3 separate regions of the Homo sapiens genome follow, and all the other regions are linked to region 1. Evidence: promoter capture Hi-C in 16 types of primary human blood cells and fetal thymus (Javierre and others, 2016). All regions are on one chromosome and are shown on one strand. The core of a region is centred on a gene start or on the middle of the fragment in contact, and the rest is flanking DNA. Distances in the headings are between cores, read along the strand shown.

What was found. Contacts are between HindIII fragments. The CHiCAGO score rates a contact against its expected background, and 5 or more counts as called.
Region 2: a contact is called between a fragment that was not itself captured here and the fragment with the promoter of DYNC2H1 in region 1, in 1 of 17 cell types (total CD4 T cells). The highest score is 5.1, in total CD4 T cells.
Region 3: the fragment with the promoter of C11orf65 here is called in contact with the fragment with the promoter of DYNC2H1 in region 1 in 2 of 17 cell types (naive CD8 T cells and non-activated CD4 T cells); the score reaches 6.7 in naive CD8 T cells.

The regions. Positions count from the first base shown.
Region 1 is chr11:103,107,867-103,110,995 of GRCh38, forward strand. It overlaps DYNC2H1 (dynein cytoplasmic 2 heavy chain 1), which reads left to right and starts at 1,560. Exons shown (of 89, transcript NM_001377.3): 1 at 1,560-1,903. The coding sequence starts at 1,709. RefSeq lists enhancers at 1,153-1,272, 1,343-1,392. The HindIII fragment of the contact is 957 bases long and covers 1,135-2,091 here.
Region 2 is chr11:112,022,048-112,025,176 of GRCh38, forward strand. DIXDC1 (DIX domain containing 1) reads left to right here. Exons shown (of 20, transcript NM_001037954.4): 20 at 1-606. Among named protein-coding and RNA genes, the nearest start is that of DLAT, 1.8 kb to the right of the region's middle. RefSeq lists an enhancer at 2,323-2,512. The HindIII fragment of the contact is 1,386 bases long and covers 1,187-2,572 here.
Region 3 is chr11:108,465,862-108,468,990 of GRCh38, forward strand. C11orf65 (chromosome 11 open reading frame 65) reads right to left here and starts at 1,668. Exons shown (of 9, transcript NM_152587.5): 1 at 1,610-1,668. RefSeq lists enhancers at 887-1,739, 1,680-1,824 and a cis regulatory region at 1,752. The HindIII fragment of the contact is 4,195 bases long and covers 832-3,129 here.

The sequences.
Region 1 (3,129 bases), core at 310-2,809:
TAAAAATTCTTGGGAGGATCACATACTCATGATCTCATCTGCTTTCTAGACTCATCTTCCTACATGTGTTGCCTTTTTATTTACCATATTGTTATGGAAGCTCAATTCAGCCATTTCATACATTTCCACCAAAACAACTCACCAAACCGAGCACTTGTGGGTAATGGAGACTTTCCTGAAGACCTTGGTAAGAGTGATAATGCTCATTGCAGAGCAGGAAACTCTGTAACCATAGTGGTCACTTTGGCTTTCAAAATCTTTTTATTAGCTACACAGTCATCTTGGGTTCCTGTTAGGATTTTTTCCCTCACCCAGTGGTCAGCATCCCACCTCACTGTTTGGATGTTTTCCCATCCAGTGGCCAGACTCCCATCTCTCACTGTTTGGATATTTCATGAGAATTTACATTCATTTCCTTTTATAATTTAGAGCAGTTCAGCTTTTTTAAGTTCCCACTCCAAAATCTTAAGTTGCTCAGCAAATAAAAGGACTCTCTCCTTCCAATTCTCAAATAGTATAGTTTTAAGGGGAGGTTATGATTATTAAGTGCAAACAAAAAAAATCTGCATATGTTTGTGTACCCTAGGATCTTGGGTCAAACCAGTGCTGAGGTGATGAATGACTACAGCAAAAACTTCCTGAGGGCAGGAACTGTGTCCCCAGGGCCTAGTTCGGTACTTGGCAAATTGTGTTAGATTGGTGCAAAAGTAATTACAGTTCTTGCCAAAAAACCGCAATTACGTTTGCACCAACCTAATAGCATGTAGTAAATATTTTTAGAAGAGAATTACTGAATTGAGAAAGTGTTTGACGAATGTTCGGATGAATGACCAGCAATTTAGTAGTTTATAGTAATGCCATGAAGTAGAAAATGACAAAGACCGTTTTCATATCTGTATTTTCACAGAATTTGGTTGCGGTTGTTATAAAATAAACTAAAAAGTATCATTTTACATTTTAGCTATTTTACAAATATGGTTGTGCTCGGGTAATGATTGCAATAAAAAATTGCTGGTTAAATTATTCTAAAATTAATAATAGAAAAAACGATGTTGGGAAATGCAGCAGCACAGAAAGGAGCAGAGGGCGACTGAGAAAGTAAATTAACATTGTATTGAATTCCTAGTCTTTATAAGCTTCTCTAAAAAGCGATTTTTAAATAGTAATCTTTTACAATCCGCACTACACCCCTGGTTGTGAGATAGTATTTCCCCTTCTTAACAGATGTGTACCTTGACGCTGACAGACTGGTTTGCTACCAGGTGCACGTGGAGAGCGAGCACTGGAACCCAGCTCTCCTAAATCTAGATCACGCTGCTGTACTTGAAGGCTAGATGTCTCTCTTCTGATTATGCGTGATAAGAAATCAGTAAGAAGAATAAAAGACATGTTTGAGAGCCAACATAAACTTGTCCGAACCCCTTACAATCGATGACCGCAGGGAGCCGCTGAAGAGCTCCGAGGCGGTCGATAGCCTCCGCGAGCTTTGCGTGCGCGTGCCCCGAGAGGGCAACGCCCACCGCGCGCCGCCAGCGACGCCGCCGTAGTGCTCCGTCGCCATAGCGACTACCCCTGGCAACCGCGAAGCTCTGCGGTCCCGCGGTCGGGCTACGGGTTTGAGCAAAGCTCCTCTCTTCCCTTCACTTCCCTCCGGACTGGTTTCTTCTTCCTTCCCCCTTCCCCCAACTTCCCTCCACCCCTTCCAATCATGGCGAACGGGACTGCGGACGTTCGGAAGCTCTTCATCTTCACTACTACCCAGAATTACTTCGGGTTGATGTCTGAACTCTGGGATCAGCCACTGTTGTGCAACTGTCTTGAAATCAACAACTTCTTGGATGACGGCAACCAGATGCTCCTCAGGGTGCAGCGATCCGACGCAGGAATCTCCTTTTCCAACACGGTACGGTTCCTTGCACTCCTGCCTGACCCCTGACCACTCTTCAAGTCCCCAGGCCCAGCCAGAGGGACGTCGGGTCACACTCTTTAGCTTTACCAACCAGATCCTTTTCAGGAACCCAAGGCTGTCTCCACTTCTCCTGCATTATTGGCTTAGATGCGTTGGCCTCGTGCTTAAGCAGGTAGTTTCCAAGCTTTGCATCCTACCTGACCGAAGCATGTTTCCCTTCCATACATCTGAATAGAAGCAATTAGATTGTGTTTTATTTTAAATTTTTATACGGAGTTTCGTTCTGTCGCTTAGGCTGGATGGAGTGTAGTGGCGCGATCTCTGCTCACTGCGTCCTCCACCTCCTGAGTTCAAGCGATTCTCGTGCCTCAGCCTCCCGAGTAGCAGGCGCGCGCCGCCACGCCTGGCTAATTTTTGTATTTTCAGTAGAGACGGGGGTTTCACCACGTTGGCCATGTGGGTCTCCATCTCCTGACCTCAAGTGATCCGGCCTCCCAAAGTGCTGGGATTGCAAGCATGAGCCACCGCGCCCGGCCTATATTCTACTTTTTAAGAAAGACTGCAGATACGTTATAACTAAAAAGAAAACATTTACTTAGTTATTTTTATTTTTTTCTCTCCCCTTTTTGAGTTTTTTTTTTGGGGGGAAGGCAAATTCTAGTCTATCTTTTTTGGATCAGGCTCTGATTTTAACATTGCCCAAGGGAAAGATTAGTTAGGAATTTAAATTTTTGTGAAATGATATATTTCAAAATAAAGTTTGAATTCTTTTTTGGTGTACATCATGTGATATACTGATTTATTAATTGCACTGCTCCCTCCACTGGCAGGATTGCTTAAAAAATGGGTTGCATTTGCAATCAGGGCTTATATATATAAGCCTAAAAGAAAAACACAGAAGAAAATTGCCTGACACATTAAAGGGGACTCAGTAAATAGATTTAAGTTAATAAAACAAAGACATATTTTAAACCTCTTCCTTTGGTGTTCACCCTTATCCCTAGGTCTAGCAGAGTTTTTGACACTCAGCAAAAACATTCAGTGCCTTTTTTTTTTTTTTTAGACGCAGTTCGCAGTTTCGCTCGTATTACCCAGGCTGGAGTGCAATGGCACAATCTTGGCTCACTGCAACCTCTGCCTCCCGGGTTCAAGCGATTCTCCTGCCACAGCCTCCCAAGTAGCTGGGATTACAGGGCATGTGCCACCACACCCAGCTAATT
Region 2 (3,129 bases), core at 630-3,129, 8.9 Mb after region 1:
GCTGGGGGGATTGGGATACTTTACAATTTTTACATTTTTAAATTTGAAGAATTTGTTTTAAACTTACTTGGTAATGGCACTTCTACTTACTGACCAACTTTTCAGCTCTTTTTGACCAGGATGGTTGCAAATTAGGGAAAATATCTTTATACTATACATCCAATTCAAGAGGACTTTAATTACTTAAAAGCATTTAGGTCATAATTAAAATTATTTTCACTGTTTCCATAAAATAAGCATTATGATTGCACACTCCTTCTACTGTCTGAATTTATGTAAGAGGTATAGCTTGCTTAAAATACATATATATGTAAAGTTATATTTTCTTAGAAACATGGATGTTTACAGCCATTGCTTTCAAAGAGATTATTACTGTGTATTCTCCCTGTTTTACAATATGTTTTCATGAAGACTATGTTACACCAGAGGCTTCTGATTATCAAAGTGATAACCAGTTTTAACTGCCGGTATGTACCAGATTTGTGAACTAATTTAAAAAACCACAAACTATGAATAAAATGGGGTTTGCAAACTAAATATCATTAATGATTTTCACTTGCGTTTACTGATGAGATTAATCAATAAAGCCATTTACATTTAGTGAAAGCAAATTTCCTCAAGTGATCTCCCTGGTAGCATGTTTACTCACTATGTGGAGTGGAGATAAGAATTACTTTATTGCTACAGATATTTTACAATTAGTATTTCTATGTAAGCACATAGGCTATTATCAAGGACAATTTATTTAGCACTTATTTTGAAATTATATGTAAACATGCAAACAAATAAGAACCCAAGAGTATAAACTCTATGACAAAAGTCAGTATGCAAGCATTAAGAACTCTTTCAGAAATGTGTATTTAAAATGACCAGAATTCCCAGATCATTTGAAAGCTGCCTCTTAAATGCCTCTTATCAATTCATCTTAAATGTTTGCTATATTAAATTCTTTATCCCTGAGTGCCTTCATTTGACTTCCAATTACGTATTTTCAACTATTAATTGGCTATCCCATTATGTTAAAATTAAATATGTACATAACTCAAAATCTTTCACTACCAACTAATTTCTGTTTCTCTCAATATCAGTGATATCACCATTCTCTTAAGTATCTCTATTTCAAACCTTTGAGTCTTGAGTCTCCTTTTCCATAATTTCCTTTATCCAGTCTGTTTAGTGGAATTCAAGCTTGTTCTCTCAGGACTGATTTGAGAAACCTAAGCATTCCTAGCCCACCTCTGGGGTAAGCTCGCCATCTCTGGACTGTTTGAGCTATGCATTCCTATAATTTAACTACACTTAAGTCAAAAGTATATTCAAGACACAAACTCGCTATTCTTTGAAAAATGCAAAACAGGGTTTAAGCAAGCATACCTAAGTGCACAACAGATCCGGAAGATCACCTCATACTTTATACCAAAGTCTAATTTAGATCCAGTTATTAAGTTCAAATGCAGCAAAAGCAGCAAGATATTTTAGCCAACTCAAAAACATTTTTATAATAATTTATAAGTCCTGGGCGGGCATGGTGGCTCGCGCCTGTAATCTCAGCACTTTGGGAGGCCGAGGCAGGTGGATCACCTGAAGTCAGGAGTTTGAGACCAGCATGACTAACATGGTGAAACCCCGTATCTACTAAAAACACAAAATTAGCTGGGCATGGTGGCACGTGCCTGTAATCCCAGCACTCGGGAGGCTGAGGCAGGAGAATCGCTTGAACCTGGGAGGTGGAGGTTGCAGTGAGCCGGGATCATGCCACTGCACTCCAGCCTGGGCGACAGAGTGAGACTCCATCCCCAAATAATAGTAATAAGTCCTTTCAGTAATTACAATTATTCTTTCATTGCTTCTTCCAATTGTTAATTCATAAGTTGTACATAATTGTAACAATATAATTGCTCTCTTCATATTATTTAAAATATGCCTTTTCATTCAATCTAGAAATTTTATATTTCTCAATTATATTGCTTACATATTATTCTGATAGACAGCTGTACCTGCTTAAACATTCCAATTTAAGTAGGCATGAAATAGTACATCCAATCTGTTTTAGTTTTCCAAATTAATTGTTAGCAAGATTAGCCCCCATTTTTTTTTTTTTTTAACAGATGGGAGTCTCATTATGTTGCCCAGGCTGGTCTCAAACTCTTGGGCTCAAGTGATTCCCCCACCTCAGCCTCTCAAGCATTGCTGGGACTACAGGCATGCACCACCGCTCCTGGCTAAAATCTTGTTTTAAGTTTCTTCCCTCCAACTTCCTCTTGCGTTCTTGGTGTTCTCTAACCATCTCTACAGGGGGGAGGTGGTGATACACAGCACATGCTTCCTCCTTATCTAATGTCACCTTCAGTTCAGAAACGATATGTTTTCTAATTAAAAGACAACTTTACAAGAGAAGCGTGCCTAACAAAATGTGTAGATGACTTTTTATTCATTGATTCAAAAGACATACATTCAGCCCCCGCTATTTACTGGATATTAAGCTCTGGGGCTACATGGAAGGACCACGCAGACACTCTTCATGCCTTCAACGGCTTACAGTTAAGTTTTTCAAACATTTGAAACATAACGAAGCTTTTGGTTACTTAAAAGAATTCTATGGTATTAGGGAGCAACACCTGTTTTGTAAACCTATATCTTCATACAGGGAATATGCTTAATCTTGCTACAGTATACATGAATGCGGGAATGTATCTTCCTCTGGGCTGCCTTTCGTTACCACTTGGCTGGGTGGAACACCTGTTCACTCCACTTTCCACTTGGGCTACAAACCTGAAACGAAATCTTTGCAACCAGTACAGCCTGCGCGGGGCGCGGCCCAGTCCATCCCCCTTCGGATGCGCAGAAGCAGAGGTCACCACGCCGGACCCCTCGATTCCCTCGCGGGCGATTCCTGGCTCCTTCACCACCCCAGCACTCCAAGACCCCCGCCCTTTGGCCTGAGGCTCCCACTGCCCTAGCCAGTTCCCGGGCTCACTTCCAGCTTTTCCAGAAAGCTTGGCCACGCCCCTCGGCCCAGACTCTCAGGCCACTCGGCCGCAATTAACCCGCGTCTCTGCGCCTTTTTAGGCCCCTCCCCCTCGGTCGTGCCCTTGTCATCTCTTAGGCCCCGTCTCACCCTTTCGGATG
Region 3 (3,129 bases), core at 418-2,917, 5.4 Mb after region 1:
TAATCCCAGCTACTCAGGAAGGCTGAGGCAGGAGAATTGCTTGAACCTGGCAGGCGGAGGTTGCGGTGAGTCGAGATCATGCCACTACTCCAGCCTGGGCAACAAGAGTGAAACTCGGTCTAAAAAAAAAAAAAAACAACAACAACAACAAAAAACGACAGATTCTAAAGCATGTTAAAATGTACCATCCAGTAGTGAGGGAGAAATTAAAGTGACGGAGAACTTAAAGGGGCAAAAAAAGGGATAAGTTAAATGGTAAAACCTTTGAGTAGGTGTAAGAGGACACCATCTGGAGCAGAAAGGAGGGTGGGACCGTTGCTGGCTTTAGATAAGAAATAAGATCGACTTTATATGGTTATTATGATGCTCCAGATAAAATAACCATTGTGAAAACCCTTCATAAGTTTTAAGATACTAAAATGTACTACCAGGCCGGGTCTGGTGGCTCAGGCCTGTAATCCTAACATTTTGGGAGGCCAAGGTGGGCAGATCACCTTAAGTCAGGGGTTTGAGACCAGCCTGGCCAATATGGTGAAACCCTGTCTCTAGTAAAAATACAAAAATAAACTGGGTGTGGTGGCGCACACTTGCAGTCACAGCTACTCGGAAGGCTGAGGCAGGAGAATAACTTGAACCCAGGAGGCAGAGGTTGCAGTGAACTGAGATCACGCCACTGCACTCAGCCTGGGCAACACAGCGAGATGCCTTCTCAAAAACAAACAACAACAAAAAACTAACCAAATAAAATGTACTATCAAACAACTGCTCAGGCAATGAAGTATTTTACTACACCCATGTGCCACTTGTAGATTCACAGATAAGTATTTTCCAAGCTTATTATATCCCTAATCAATAAAATTTTTTATCATAATAGATGATGTTTTCACTTATTTATTTTTACGCTTCGTGGAAAAAAGCCCACAAGACGTGTTTGGATTCTTGGTTTCACTTTTAAAGCAGCAAACAATCTTTACTTTGCTTGAATTGGAACCTGTATACGTCCTATTTTGTTTCCTCTACTAAATTTATTGAATAAACAAATGATTCGCGTGGCCTTTATAAGTTTCGTAATTTCGCTTTTCCTTTTTACCTGTGGTCCTTGATGCTAGGGGCAGGAGAAGAAAAACTAACCTATTCTTTAAAAACGCGTTTCCCTTTTCCATCTCTAAAAAAACTGAAAAGACGTAAAACAAATGGGAGGGGGCAAAGGAAAGAAATGAGGAAAAATCTAAGGAAGATTAATGTGTACTTCCCGGTCAGCGGGAAGGTGGACGGAGTAATATCTTTGCGGAGGATTGGGGTGTGGGGATCTGTGAAGGCGCAGTATGAGCAGTAAGGACTTGTCAACCAGCCCGACGCAACTTCACCGAGGGCGAGGAAAGGAGCTCTGAGGAAGGGGTTACTCCCGGGCAGGACTGTAAACCAGCTGGAGGCCTCGCTGGGAGGGCTTTAGAGGAATGAAACGTCCTTAAGAGGGGCGGATGGGGAATGGTATCAAGGGTATGGGTTCTTTAGGGCCTTGAAACAACGAAGGCTCAAACCAGTGGGCACAAAGGCTACCGGAACAGTAGTACGCGCTGAGAGAAGGGACACTATTCCCTTCACCTACCAATCGCTGCTGGCCCGGGCGCCGCTGGACTCCTAGGTAACGTCGCAGGCGGAAATGACGTAACTCAATCCGTTCTGTCCCGCCCCATTGCCCTCCTAGCCCCGCCTTCTAGGCCCCGCCTTTCCTCTATTCGCGCTCTGACAAAGTGCAGGGGATATAGACCAACCGCTTGTGAAGGCTGCTGGTTCTGTTAGAAGCCCGCTTTCGATTGTCAGTGGCTTTGAGGCAAAGGATTTTGGAAGGGAAAGCAAAGTGATTGTCTACGAAGTTGGGCTTAGTATATAATAAAGCCCAGTCATTTCAACCAAGAACCTTAAAGATGTTGAGAAATATAATGAAATATTTTCTATTAATTTTTGTAAAATTTTTCTTGAGATAGGGTCTCAATCTGTGGCCGAGGCTGGAGTGCAGTGGCGCGATCTCGGCTCACTGCAGCCTGGAACTCCCCTGGCTCAGGTGATTCTCCCACGTCAGCCTCCCGAGTAGCTGGGACCGTAGGAGTGCACCACCACGCCAGGCTCATTTTTCTATTTTTATTAATAGTGGCGACAGGGTTTCTCCATGTTGTCCAGGCTGGTCTTGAACTCCTGGGCTCCAGCGATCCCCCCCTACCCCATCTCCCGCCTTGGCCTCCCAAAGTGCTAGGATTACAGGCGTGAACCACCGCGCCCGGCCTATTTAATTAGTTTAATTTATTCATTTGAAAATGAGACAACTGATCCTTCTAGCTATTTGACAGGTCTTGCTCAAGGTCAAAGAATACGTGACTTGCAGTCCAATGTTATTTCTAAATGTAAGCTCTTCAGCTGGTTAAGCTAAACTGCTTTAAGTGAAAACAGACGACCTCTTGAATGAGTTTTCAAATGACCTTAAATAATGCAAGCACTGCTTATCTAAAGCAAGTCTGACTTGCTTGAATTCTGAGTCTGACACTTTGGCAGTGCTTTAGTTGGTCACAGATTATTGCAATGTGAAAAAATCTTGTTCAGAACTGCCCAGTTTTGCTATGTTCGTCCTATGTTCATGCATGGAATATAATTTGTTTGTAAGGAAGATAAACTTTTAAGGAGGGAAAAGAAACACCTGAAGAGAAATTTCCCTGTATAATGAAAACATTTGTACAGAAAAAATTCTTGGTAGGTTAATTCAGTGACTCACTGAACTTCCAGAGTTCTTTAAAATCATCACAATCATAAGCAAGGGGTGAGCTTCAGTTCCTCTTTATGTAGTTGCCTTGATGCATTAATACACAGTAGTTATGAACAATAAACTGTAAAAATATAGTCATGGAAACATTATGTATATCTTAATTTTCAATCTAATAGAAACTGGGTTAAAAAATTTAAATTCAGGCCAGGTGTGGTGGCTCACACCTGTAATCCCAGCACTTTGGGAGGCTGAGGTGGGCGGATCACTTGAGGTCAGGAGTTCAAGACCAGCCTGGACAACATGGTGAAACCCCCTCTCTACTAAAAATACAAAAATTAGCCCAGCCTCCCAAGTAGCTGGGACTACAGGCG